3 separate regions of the Homo sapiens genome follow, and regions 2 and 3 are each linked to region 1. The links are contacts of gene promoters, found by promoter capture Hi-C in human tissues and cell types (Jung and others, 2019). All regions are on one chromosome and are shown on one strand. The core of a region is centred on a gene start or on the middle of the fragment in contact, and the rest is flanking DNA. Distances in the headings are between cores, read along the strand shown.

Region 1 (4,568 bases), core at 698-3,197:
AGCTCTTAACCAATGTGCTATTTTTCTTTTCCCATACCCACTTGGTCATCATATCCTATTAATTCTACCTCTGCAATATTATTCAAACTCACCCCCTTGTCTGTAGTTCTGCTATTATGATCAGGGTTCAGGATCTCATAAAACATTTCTCTAATCTTCATACTGGGGTTCCTAATACAACTTTTGCCTGTTTCAAATAATCCCTACATTCCTGTCATGTCATTCACACTTAAATGGATATGAAGTTTCTACTTCTCTGCTTAAAGGCCTTCTAGGAAAACTTTCTAGCCTGTCATACAAAGTCTCCATCTGATTCCTACACATAATTTCTGCCTTGACCTTTTGTTCATAACTGAATCTGCATTCGTATCTCCCATGATTCTTTTCTCTTTTCATGTCTGTCTTCTCTTAATATTCAGACTTCCTTGTGAGCAAGAGTCCATATAGCTCCATAGAGCTATGAGTATATAAAATACACTCAATAAATATGCCTTGAGTAAACTGTACTTAGAATCTTTCTTTGTTTCAAGATCCATATTTGAGATCATAAGATCCATATTTTTGAGATTCATAATAAAAGATAACTTCAAGAAAGTAAATGAAGAATTTATTTCTATGGCAAAAAATATTGATATATACTATGCTGTTAATTATATATGAAATATTACATCTGTTGAGATTAGGACCTGGAGTCTGATTCTTCATTTCATGGATTACACCAATATCTTTGCTCTAAAAGATGAGGCCAGGCATGGTGGCTCATGCCTGTAATCCCAGAACTTTGAGAAGCCAAGGTGAAAGGATTGCTTGAGCCCAGGAGTTTGAGACTAGCCTGGGAAACATAGTGTGACCCCCATCTCTACAAAAATAAAAAATTAGCTGGGAGTAGTGGTGCACACCTGTAGTCCCAACTGTTGGGGAGACTGAGCTGAGAGGATCTCTTGAGCCTGGGAGGTCAAGGCTGCAGTGAGTCGTGATCACACGTCTGCACTCCAGCCTGGTTGAAGAGCGAGATTCCGTCAAAGAACAAGAAAGAAGAAAGAAGGAGAAGGAGGAGAAGAGGAGGAGGAGGAGAAGGGGGAGGAGGAGGAGGAAGAAGGAGAAGGAGGAGGGGGAGGAGGAGGAATTGCAGGTAGTTACTATTCCGATTGCTTCACCCCACCTCACCCCCCTCCCCGGCCTACTTGTTTTACTCCTAGATAATATATCTAACAGCAATCCAACTATAAAATATTAATATATGTAACATATAAGCATTTGACTATTACAACTGAAGGAAAATGGTAGCTATCACTGGGGGCGAACAGGATCACCCAAGTGCATTTAATGGACTGTAATAAACCACATTTCCTCACAGCATGATTCAAATGTTCTTCCTCAATTTGCAATTAACTGATATCCACAACTGGTTACTTTGGGAACTTTGTATTCCTGCTTTAGGAAAACAAACAAGGTTTATTTCTTGTGGTTATCATATAAAAATAACTTCTCATATCTAAGATCTTTCAAGCTTCCTCTCACTTGCCAACCTTGCCTCACCTTCCTGGTTTACACTTCTAATAATTTTCATGTGTTCCTCCGGCTAACCCCTGGACTCCTGATCTCCTTGCTGGAGGTGAGAATGATGCCAGGGTTAGCGACTGCTCTGCGGTTCCCCAAAGCTCCTCCTACCCAGACGGCGACAGTTTGGATGCTGAGGTTGGAAAGCAGGACAGGGGACACTCCTGAGTGCAGCTCGGAGCGGGGAAAGCCGAATTCCGGGGGCTGAAGAGGCCGCGCAGGGGACGAGCGCCTGCGATGCGGAGCGTGGACTTCTTGGGCCGTACCCCTGCGGCTCAAGCTGCCCCGGATTCGCTTCTCCGGCCGTGCAGCCCGGCGCGGGCCGCTGTCCACAGTGGGAGGTGCTGAAAGCAGGGAGCGGGTGCGGGGGCGGCGAGGCGGACCGCTGCTCCGAGCGCCCCCCTCCTCGCTCCGCGGCTCCTCCAGCCCTCCCCTCCTCCCGCAGCCATGTTCCACGCGCGGGGAGGGGTGGGGGGAGGGGAGAGGCACGGGGGATCAGGGCGGAGAGAGCCGGCTCTGCCTCGGGGAAGGAGGGGATGAGAGTTGGGAGCAGCGGGAGGAGGCGGCGGCGGCGGCTAGCGAGGAGACAGAGCTGGGTCCTGCAGTAGGACTCCCGGGAGCCACCATTATGGTGAAGAGGAAGAGCTCCGAGGGCCAGGAGCAGGACGGCGGCCGCGGCATCCCCCTGCCCATCCAGACCTTCCTGTGGCGGCAAACCAGGTGAGGGGCGCAGAGGGCGCACCGCGGGCCGCCCTGGGCTGGGGGCGCTCCTGGGGCCGCCCGGGTCGCCGCTGCCGCCGCCGCCGCTGAGGCCGCGCCACAGCCTGCAGCTCCCTCTCTGGGGCTGGAAAACAAGCCCTCTGCACCAGCTTAAAAACACGCATTAAAATATGTATATATATGTATATATTTCAGTGAAGTTTGACGACAAGCAGATTGGCAGTTGTCGCATAAATGTATACATTATTTTAGGGGGTGGGAGGGCAGAGAGCCTGGGAAGAGGGGGCGGGGAGCTAGATAATTATGACTGGTTGTGCTCCTGCGTCCAATTCCCCCTCCATCTCCTGCTGTAATTCTAGCCCAGTGACCTGTTGTTTTTCCAGCTCCTGTTTGGCGAATATCTGCTATGCCCACTTGTTAACCGTTTTGCTCAGATTAATCTCCCCAGTTAAATCTCCTGAGGATTTGTGATAAGGGACCTTCCCCCACAACCCCGGAAAGGCCTGACACCTATTCCAATAAACAGAAAAGGTTTTCTTTATTATTGTTATTTTAGAGATTTATCAGATAAGATATTAGATTCTGGAAATTATGACCCATAAGCCGTGTTCAATTTTCAGTTTTTATTATGACTGTACACGTAAGTAATGCACCACTTCTGACCACTGGCGATTTAAAATCTTAGAAGTCTTCAGATTAAGAGTGGATACCGAAAACCATCGAGATCCACTTCTCTTTCATATATGCAATTACACGTGTAAAAGAAAATGTCATCAGCTGTTCAACACCTGCTCATTAAAAAGCTATAAGGAAGCATGAAATTTGAATTTCATAGCATCCTGTCTTATTCATTGAAAAATACGTCACAAGGATGCTTTAATAATAATTTTACTTATGTTTATTAACAAATATCTCTATTAATTTTTCAGTGCATTTTTGAGGCCCAAACTGGGGAAGCAATATGAAGCTTCTTGTGTGGTATGTGATTTTCACCATTTAATAATTATTTCCCTATTCTGTGTGGTGGTTTGAACCCAAAGACAGATTTTAAATCAAACGGACTATATATATTAATTCACTTGGCAAATATTATTGATCACCCACTCTGTGCCAGGCACAATTCTCTGTGCTGGAATAGAACAATGATAAAAACAAATACAGTGTTTACATCCTAGTAGAAAGGGGACAAGCCACAAACAAATAAGTAAATACATAGTAAGCCAGATGGTGGTAAGCACTATGGAGAAAAATTAAGCAAAAAGAAATACTAGGAAGCACTAGGGAGGGGAGTTTTATAAGAATGGATAGATAAGGCTTATCTACCCATTAATGTGAACCTTGGCCAAAGACACAAGGGGAAGGGAGGGAAGGACAGCTGAGGGAAGAGCAGAGGAAACATGTTAAAGGAAATTAGCACCTACTGGGGAATAAGTGAAAGGGTGGGGCGGGATCGAGTGGTAGAAGAGAAGGCAGAGAGATAACAGGGAACCAGGTGGTGTAGGGTGTTTTTGCCACCTGCAAGTGTGAAGTCGAATCCTTAATCAACAAAACTGAGACTTATAGTGGAAGTTCATATGATGGAGTGCCTGTGAAAGAACTACTTGAACAAAATATATGCATTTCTGCACTTTTATGTCTTGCATATGTTCTCCAATTCTAAAAATGAATAATATAAAATAATTGTGAAAATAATACTGTTAATATTTATACAAAATAAAATGCATTTGTCCTGAGATTCTAAGGGAATCTTATATCCCTACAAATTCTTGTTTCACAAATTGAGAAAATAAGACATGAAATCATGAAGCAAAATTGAAATGGACTTTTCACAGCCTTCATTAATATTTGGAGCTTACCTAAAAGTCTTTACATTGCATATATTATAACCTAAAAATGGAAATCTACCAATTTGGATATTGCCATGCATATTTACAAATAGCTATGTGGATGACCTTGTGGTAAGGAGCTCTGAGATGTGTTAGGGCAAAAAATTCTGATGGAAGCCAACTGGAAAGTTAAACACATACATGCCCACTCACGTAGGAATTTGTTTTGTTGCATCTCCTATCTTTCAATGTTGTCACAAACACATTTTTTAAAATATAACTTTCTTATAAGGACCTTTTAATGGAATTTGTCATTGAATTTAGCTTGTTAGAGTAATTTGACACTTGAAATCTCAGACTTTCTTAACCATGCTGACAATTATACTAGCTTAAAATAATCCTGACTTTCTCTGTTCTTGGCGAAGATATTTTTGGCATTTTTAATGCAGTCACACAATATCA
Region 2 (4,534 bases), core at 391-2,890, 38 kb before region 1:
CACCACTCATTCTCAGCTAAGAGATTTTACACAGGCAAACGTGTCTTAAACCATCTATAAATCAGTTATTTTATATGACAGTCAAAACCTTAGAAACCTTAGGATCATTATATCTATTTTCTGCCTATTAATTGCTGTGAGGTTTGATTTGACCAATCTGGGCAATTTATTCATCAGCTTCCCTTGAAGTGCACCAGAAAATAGAAGAAAGGTGTGTGGAGACTTAGGGTATTTTATTACATGTTTTCATAGTCTTAAATAGTGATTAAATTTCTCTAGAAAGAAGTTAACAGCTCATTAGAAAAGTTTTAACCTGTGAAATAAGTATTTTTCTCAACATTCTTTAAAGTTTTTATATAAGTTAACACTAGGTAAACATTCTGCATACTAGAAGTCAGTTTATTACAAATACATGTCAAAAATAAAGATTATACAAGGCACCAAACTACTAGATTTGGCATTAAAACAAATGTTTATTTCTAATCACAACAAAATTATAATGAATAAATGTTCTTGCTTTGTATGGAAATACAATTCTTTATTAAAGTTAACAGAAAGGAACTGATCGTTTGTACCAGTAAAAGAGAGAAACACACAGGTTAAATATCTTCTTGTGGGGTTAAGGGGTAGAACCTATCTTGCCTTCACTCTCAAGATAACGACTCAAATTAAGCTTTTTGAGCACCACTCTTGTGGGGACACACATACGCTGATCTAGGAATGAAATCTTCGTGGTCTCAATTCTAGATCTACTATGCCAGTTTCTCTCTGGCTTTAGCCTTTGAGAACCTGTATAAGAATACGTAAGTAATCCAGAGCTGTGAAGAGTTTAAAGGCCAACTTCTCCAGTGAACTCAACCTCTGGGTCACTTGCAACCAGAAATTGGATACCTCATAATGATGCAGGAAAGACCCGAGTTCATGATGAGTTTCAAAGGCCACGTTCATTTAGGAACCAACTCTCTCTGGATTTACCTGCTGAGTTCCAGCAGCGTGATGGGCTGACATCCCACCTACAAGTATGACACCTGTGTAACACCAGCTAGGTACGGCTGGAGAAGGCTGAAGAGAGAATGCCATTAAATGGAAGAATGTACTGATTGTAGTGACCTTCTCCACACACACACACACACACACACACACACACACCTACAGTAATACAGCAAGCGTGGAATAATCAGCCAATATATAACATTCCATCAGTATTTTATTAAGGAAATAACCTGAATGTGGTTGATTTTGACATAGCTGCAATTACAGTTTTCTTCTATTTTTCAAGCCACAATAAGGAAAATAAACTACTCATGGTCTAAATACTAGAGATAAAGTAGATTCATGGCTTGGTAAGGAAATTTTAAGCATTCCTTCAAAGATTGACGTGCTAAAATAAGCATTGATGTTTTGAGTTTTTTTACACCTAGGATTTTTAGCTTGGGTGTGTAGGTGAAGGCCAAGACTCTCTGCAGGAAAAAGCTTATTTTCAAACTCAGAAAATAAAATGTCAATCATAAAAATCTACTTCAACTTTAGCAAAAAGAAAAAAAAATCAACAAAAAGTATACTCTGTATGCTGGGATTCCGAGGTTCCAACACACTGTTACAAATCTGTGGGGGGTTTCTTTCTTCTGATAATTCTAGAGCCTGTTACCATAGAAAGGCATTTCTTCAATGGCTGGTTGTAGTTAGTTCATGTTTTTCAATCAAATTTGCAAATGTATTTGTTGCTGTATAGTGATTGTTTTGCAAAATAAAATTGCTTGTCACCTAACTGCTAGTTTTGGTTTCAGACTGTTTAATTGCTTCTCCTCTGGAAAAAAAATTTTATATATATATATAGTGATATAGTGCGTGTGTGTGTGCATGTGTGTAATACAACCAAAGAAAAATTGTGAAAACAAGGCTATTATTATGGCTGAGTTTCTATTATGTGTCAGGCTCTATACTAAATGATTTTATATTAGCTCAATTAATAAGGAAATTTATTTTTATCACTACTGTATTAGCAGGATGCTATCTTTTGCAAGTGACAAAAATTCTAATTAAACGGGCTTAAACGTAAAGGTGAATTTGTAGGCTCAAGTAACTGACTACTCAGGTGTATCTGCCTCAGGCATGGCTGGGTCCAGGCCCTCAAACGACGTCATCAGGAATCTTCCCTTTTCCAACTTTTAGTTTTGCATCCTCTGTGTTGGCTTCCTTCTCAGGCAGGCACCCCTTCCGTGATGGGCACCAGAAGCTCCAGATTTCACAACCTATCAAAGAAAGCCCCTTTACAGTAGCTCAAATCCAGGGTCTGAAAATCACTGAACGATTAATACTTGGATCTCCTGCCTACTTATGCTAATTGACCAGGATTGGCTCACGTACCCAACTCTGTCACAGGTGGTTGGAGTAGAAGGAGAATAAGGGGAGAAGTGGCTTTATTCTCCTCCATACTACCTGAGCTAATCGTGGAGAGGAAACGTTTCCCCCAAAGTTAATTCAGGCTACTCCTGCCAGAAGAGAGGAATTGATACTGTACAGGCCACAAAAACAAATACGTGGTATAGCTGCACCCCTGTTCATCTTTTAGCTCCTTACAGCTCAGATTATGCTCAGGCTTCACCAGGGAGCTTGATAGAAATACAAATTTCTGGACTCCACCCCAGACTAACTAACTAACATTCCTCCAGGTGATTCATCTGCACTCAAAAATTTGAGAAACACTAAGCTCATTCAGTCCCTGCTAATGTGTTTAAGGAGAAAGAGCTCCGTTGCAGGTCTCTAATGGATAAAAGTTATCCCAAAGACTATTTGAGACAGCATCCCTACCTCTGATGTCAAACTAGGAACCAAGGCATAGAAAGCTGTGACTGGTAAAAGAAATACTTATGTGTGTATTAGAGGTTTTCCAGCCCTCAGACTATTTTAACTTGGCTAAAACCTACTTCTCTTATTAATGGCATCACTTCTCATTCAGTCTCCTTTTGCTAATAATGCAGATTTTGTAGAACCTAGCAAGAATTATTAGTGTATCTCTAATAATTCCTTAAAATCAGCACACATGTTGTCCTTCAGAGTCTTCAAACCATGAGGATTAAATTTGTCCAGTAGCATGAATCACCATAAAATTGTTGATTTTCTTTTTTATTTGTTAACAAGGCAAGGAAAGGTTTATTTGCCTTGACAAGAGACAACCGTAAATAATGGAGGATGACAGGATAACATTCAGTGTAACTTACAGAAAGATAAATGTTCCTCTTCTTGTTTATGATGTGGCACTTCCTTGTAGACCTGAGACTTCAAGAATTTAGGGCTAGAAAATTGTCAAAAGTATACAGTCTAGCAACCTAAAATTGTTTCAAAATATTAAGCCCTTCACTCGACTTTCTTGAGCATGATAAAGCAGCATCATGGACACACTCTTTAAAGCCCTTTTTCCACCTCTCATGCCTTTCCCTCACAAATATGCCTCAGCTGTTTCCACTTCTACTCCCTTAAATTCCAAGACAATCTCTGTCCCAGGCCTCAGTTGAGGTAATAAACCTGTGGCCTCCAGATAGGCTTTATTTGGCCTGCAAACTGTTTTCAAATTTCAGAAACTTCACATGCACACACACACATCCCAGATTTGGATCTTCGCTCTTGGTGACCATTGACCAGAGCTGTCCATGGGTACCTCTGAGATGGGGTTTATTCCCTTGACTTGGCCACCATGCCCAGCTAGGCTTATTATTTTCTCCCACCCCTCTGCTTTCACTCATTACGATAAGCATTAAACTACAGATTTAGAGTTTGTAACCCTTGACCTAGGCACACTTGTCTTTCTCGCCAATATTTTCCTCATCCTATAAAACAAAAGTCCAAAATCCTAGAGCCCCTAATCCTAGAGCCAGGGAGTTAGGGAGGTTAGATTAGAATCCTCAGGGTGACAGAGAACTGGGAACACCAATATTTATAGCTTTTGTCCTGTCTCAAAAAAAAAAAAAAGCAGGGGGAAAAAGACCTTTAAGAAGCACATTTATTTCATAGCAGCAACTGTTAATGTCCATGATAAACATATTTAAGTTTCTGCACACCCCTTATACTTATTGCTAAATCAAGGGAAAAAAAACTGCAGTGGAGTTTGTTTCCTTGTCGTGCCACCTATGATAAAGATCTCATTGTCAAGTGAGAAATGACAAAAACTATTGTCTTACTCTGTAGGACTGAACATATAGGATACTTGCCTATTCCTTTTAGGAACAAAGAAAGGCATAGCTAGGAAACGCTCTAGCCTAGACAAGCCAATGTTCTTGAACCCAAGGCTGATCTTCAGGCAATATACATGTTATTTAATTGAATAAGTTGTTACAATATTGAAAGACTTGCTGCCCAAGCCTCCTCCGCCTTACCAATGCCCACATTGGCCACCCAAACCTATTCTTCTGTGCTCCACAGATGTCCTCTGATTCCAGCATATACAAACGGACAGCAGAAGGCCTTCAAAATCCTGCTCTAGTCCCCTCAAAAGTCCTGGCTTCCAGGCATCACCAATGGCTACTGTCCCCCAAAG
Region 3 (4,513 bases), core at 738-3,237, 56 kb before region 1:
GCAACAAGAATGAAACTCTGTCTCAATAAATAAATAAATAAATAAAATTTTAAAAGCACAAGTTATATGCGCTTGTAATAATTGAAAGTTACTAAAGAAGTGGTTTCACAGATGTTGTTTTCATTAACTGCTCATTGGATAGGATAGTCAGTTAGAGCATAATCTCTGCAAGGCCATGTCTGTGGATCTGATTGATTGCCTCTGAATTATGTGCTTTTGCTCCATTAATGACTACAGTCAGTCATTTTCAGGTTAGCTAGGCTACAGATGGTGGCATCATCATGCAAGTCACTCCTTTTTGAAGAAAAAACAGTACTCACTTTTTAAATAAAGAACTTTGTAAAATTTGTCAGCATATTGCTTTCCCAATCAGCATTGGTCTGTCATCTTTGTAAAATTTTTATTTAGATAAATCTATTAAACTAGAACCTGTAAAACATATCATTACATTCTAGAAATAAAGCAATCTTAGTTTCTATATCTCAGTTCTATATGGATCTATTAAACTAAAGGATATTAGATGTCAGAGATATCCATCTCCTTCTAATCCAACCCTCACATTTTCACAGAGTAAGAAACAGAAGTTCTCACATTACCTGCATCTTGCATATAGGACATTAAATATCATCCTTCCATGGCTGAGCTGTGAAGTCAGAGTCTATACTTTGTCTTTAATGAATAATTAGTCACTTATCTGCAAGTATGTAATTTTGTATACCTTAGTCTTCTTTGTTTGCCTTACCTTTCATTTCATAACATGAAAATAAATGGTAATTTTATTTAGCAGTGTTTTCCATGCCAAAGTTTTTTTTACCACGTCAGGATTGAAATTTGAAGCTTCTAAACTTTTATTATATTTTCATGAAATAATTTAATGCAAATAGCATGTTATATTGATACACTATTAAAATACATGTTATATTAATATACTACATTAAATTTGGAAAGGTATGTTGCATTTTATCATATTTTTTGTTTTCTCCTATAATTGACAGTTATTTTTTAAATAATTCTAAAAATTAAGGTTTTAAAATAGAAGCTAGTTAGCTTTTTAATTTCTAAGGATAATATAAAGAATCAATTATGAAATATTATAGCATCAATCTTGGCATCTTAAAAATAACATGGGGAGTTGTCTCCTATTACTTTGATAATTCCAGAAATACAAAGTTTTACCTTTCTTTACTTGACCATTGAGTCAACAAATATTTATTGAGCACCTACTACACCATGCTATGTTCTACATACTGAAATATAACAACAAACAAAATAGACATAGATTTCTTAAATTCTTGCCATCATGGAATTTACATTCTAGGAGGAAAGGTGAGCAAAAAAAAAAGTGATATAAGAAAAATATGTAAAAAAGTGCTAAGTATGGAGAAAAATAAAGATAAGAAAGAGGCTCAGGATATGTTAAGAGGAAATTGCATTTCTGATAAGATGGCTAGGAAAGTCCCGAGAAGGTGATATTTGAATAGAAGCTCCAAGGAAGTAAAGAAGTAAGCCATTTGGATAACTAGGTAATGAGCCTTTCAGGCAAAGGGAACCACACATCCAAAGACCCTGAGGTAGAAGCAGGCCTAACATGTTCTAGGAACAGCAAGTACATCAGTGTGACTGATGCCACATACATCTTTGAGTATAGAAAGTTTATGCTATTATTACATTATTATTTTTAGTATTATTACATCTATTCAAATAACAGGACTTTCATATTGCTAAACCAAAAATCTAAGTGTTGACTTTTCCTCTCACTTTCTCTCATCCCATATCCTAACCATCTGATTTTGTGCCCTGAATAGCTCTTAAATCTGGCCATTTCACTCAGTCTGCTCTGCACTACCTTAGCGCAGGATACATGATCTCTTGCTGATATTGTCGCAATTGTTATTAATTTTTGGTTTCCCTACATCTGTTGTTTGCTCTATCTGATGTACTCTCTATACTGTAACCAAACTTTCTCACCACATTTTTCATTAAATATTCCATTATATAATTAGTAATTTAATGTCTATCTTGTTTCACTTACTAGACCATAAGGTCCATAAAGTCAGAGATGAGGTGCATTTTGTCCATAATGTCCCATACATAGTAGGTGCTCAATAAATATGCAGTGAAAATTGAATGAATGTATTATGCCATATTCATGGAGAGATGCATTCTTTTAGTGACACCGTTGAATGATTATGAATGTTTTATGTCATGACAGTTATTATCCAAAGAAACTTTCCATGTTTGTCTAAAACAAGCTTGTCCAACCCATGGCCCTTGGGGCCACATGTGGTGCAGGATGACTTTGAATGTGGCCCAACACAAATTCATAAACTTTTTAAAAACATTTTGAGATTTTTTGTGATTTTTTTTAGCTCATCAGCTATGATTAGTTTTAGTGTATTTTATGTGTGGCTCAAGACCATTCTTTTTCTTCCAATGTGGCCCAGGGAAGCCAAAAGATTGGACACCCTGATCTAAAAGAATATTGAACTAGGATTTAAGAGCTGAGTTAGTGGTCCAGCTCTTCTATTAAAGTATTGCATTACCTTAGGTACTGATTTTTTTTTTGTCCTTATTTGTAGAATGGAAGCAACAAAATCATGCTTGTTTTTGTATATAGCACCATTTCATTTAAATAGACTCTTAAATCATTTTAAATTCTCACATGCATGGTACTACTTGGAGCATGATAGTAGTTATGCATTACAGTTCATCAAAAAACATTCATTTAGGTATTCTAATAGATTCCATATATGTTTGTGCCACAAGGGCCAGCTGAAATTGAGTAAAAGAGCAGGTTTCTGAAATAGAAGAAAGGTGTCATAAGGGAAGAAGGAGACATAGAGAGGGAGGAAGAAGGGAATAAAATTAGTGAAATGTAGGGTGGAATCTTTTTAAATATATTCTTATAAAGTTTTAGGCATTATCTGTATTAGTCTGTTCTCACATTGCTATAAAGAGCTACCCAAGACTGGGAAATTTATGAAGAAAAGAGGTTTAATTGACTCACAGTTCCACAGGCTTAACAGGGCGCATGACTGAGAGGCCTGAGGAAACTTAAAATCATGGCAGAATAGGAACTTTCACTCTCTCTCCTGCCACCATGTGAAGAAGGTGCCTGCTTTAAGGGAAAGCAGTTCCACACACTTTTAAATCATCAGATCTCATGAGAACTCACCGTCTTGAGAACAGCAAGGGGGAAATCTGCCCCCATGTTCCAATCTCCTCCCACCAGGTCCCTCCTCCAATTCAACCTGAGATTTGGGCAGGGACACAAATCCAAATCATATTGTTACCCTCGGATTATTTGTAGGCCCTTTAAATGCTAATTACATAGTTTACCTTCAATTTTATATTTAAGAAAATGGATTAATTCTGGAAGCAACTAATAAATTATAGTGAAACAGAATTTTCCCTCATTATATGAAATTATAATGGTTACCACTATGAAGGTCTACTGGGTGCTATTAACATGTAAGCATATTTATAACATATAAGATGAAGAGAGAAAGATTGCAATGAATCTTTTTCTCATTCACATATTTATTCTTTCATCAAACATTTACTAAGATTGCTGGGCATTAAATGACAAAAGGGCAATGGGAGACAATGAGGCATGGTCTCTGCAATCTAGGCAAAAAGGAGGTTTTTTGTTTTTTGTTTTGTTTCTTGTCCTCCTCTAATGTCTTCCCCTTATTTAATTTTAAGTTTTTTTCCAAGCCATTTCTTCACATCTTCTTAGAGCTACAATAAGGGCTAAATAAGAGGACTCATAAAATACCCTACGAACTTGTAAAAATACTGTTGGTCAACACAGCATGAAGAAATTTATTACAAGGCTTTTGTTTGTTTTGTTTTGTTTTTTGATATCAAAGTCATCATTATATCAGAGTGAAAGCTACTTAAGATCAGGACTCTGTCTTTATGCAATAGAATTTTGTAACTATAAATCAAATGTCTTTTGTGGAGTAATGAAAAGGTTTTGAGCTAGGTTGAGTAAATACTAATTTTTAAAAATTATGAGAAAATTACCACTTTGGGTTTGCAAAGTTGAGGCTTGTTGAGCCTTTTTATCTACTGTTCATTCACAAGCCAAACAAAGACACAGGAACTAATGAGGTTATTTTCAGATAACTGAGCAGACTATTTAACAATTACTTTCTTTGATGACTTCGTCCACTATTCCTTAGAATTTCTTAAAAATTTAAACAAGAAAAAATTTAATGTCAAAAAATTATAATATACAAATTTGAAAAAGTTCATTAGCTGTTCATTTTCATGAATCAAAATGACTGTTGTACTCATAATGTTTCTTCCAGCGCCCACTGAGAGACCATTTACAAATACGTAAAAATGGGTCCAGTGACTGAACTCATTAATGTCTATTCCACTAAAACGTTCTTTCCAAATTCTTCAGCATTATCTATTCACCCCGGGCTTTTCAGTGTGGTTCTACTTTCTGTGCCATGCGACTCAGCTTGCGTAGGAAAATTGGTCTCTCCAACTTTTCTTTTAG

What was found. Contacts are between HindIII fragments. The study calls those that stand out against the background at their distance.
Region 2: a fragment that was not itself captured here is called in contact with the fragment with the promoter of UNC80 in region 1 in 1 of the 25 tissues and cell types used here (hippocampus).
Region 3: a contact is called between a fragment that was not itself captured here and the fragment with the promoter of UNC80 in region 1, in 1 of the 25 tissues and cell types used here (dorsolateral prefrontal cortex).

The regions. Positions count from the first base shown.
Region 1 is chr2:209,769,885-209,774,452 of GRCh38, forward strand. UNC80 (unc-80 subunit of NALCN channel complex) reads left to right here and starts at 1,948. Exons shown (of 65, transcript NM_001371986.1): 1 at 1,948-2,280; 2 at 3,210-3,258. The coding sequence starts at 2,189. RefSeq lists an enhancer at 3,507-4,008. The HindIII fragment of the contact is 3,928 bases long and covers 555-4,482 here.
Region 2 is chr2:209,732,345-209,736,878 of GRCh38, forward strand. MAP2 (microtubule associated protein 2) reads left to right here. Exons shown (of 16, transcript NM_001375505.1): 16 at 1-1,768. Among named protein-coding and RNA genes, the nearest start is that of UNC80, 37 kb to the right of the region's middle. The HindIII fragment of the contact is 5,614 bases long and covers 1-4,447 here.
Region 3 is chr2:209,714,178-209,718,690 of GRCh38, forward strand. All of the region lies in intron 13 of MAP2 (microtubule associated protein 2), which reads left to right. Among named protein-coding and RNA genes, the nearest start is that of UNC80, 55 kb to the right of the region's middle. The HindIII fragment of the contact is 6,443 bases long and covers 1-4,513 here.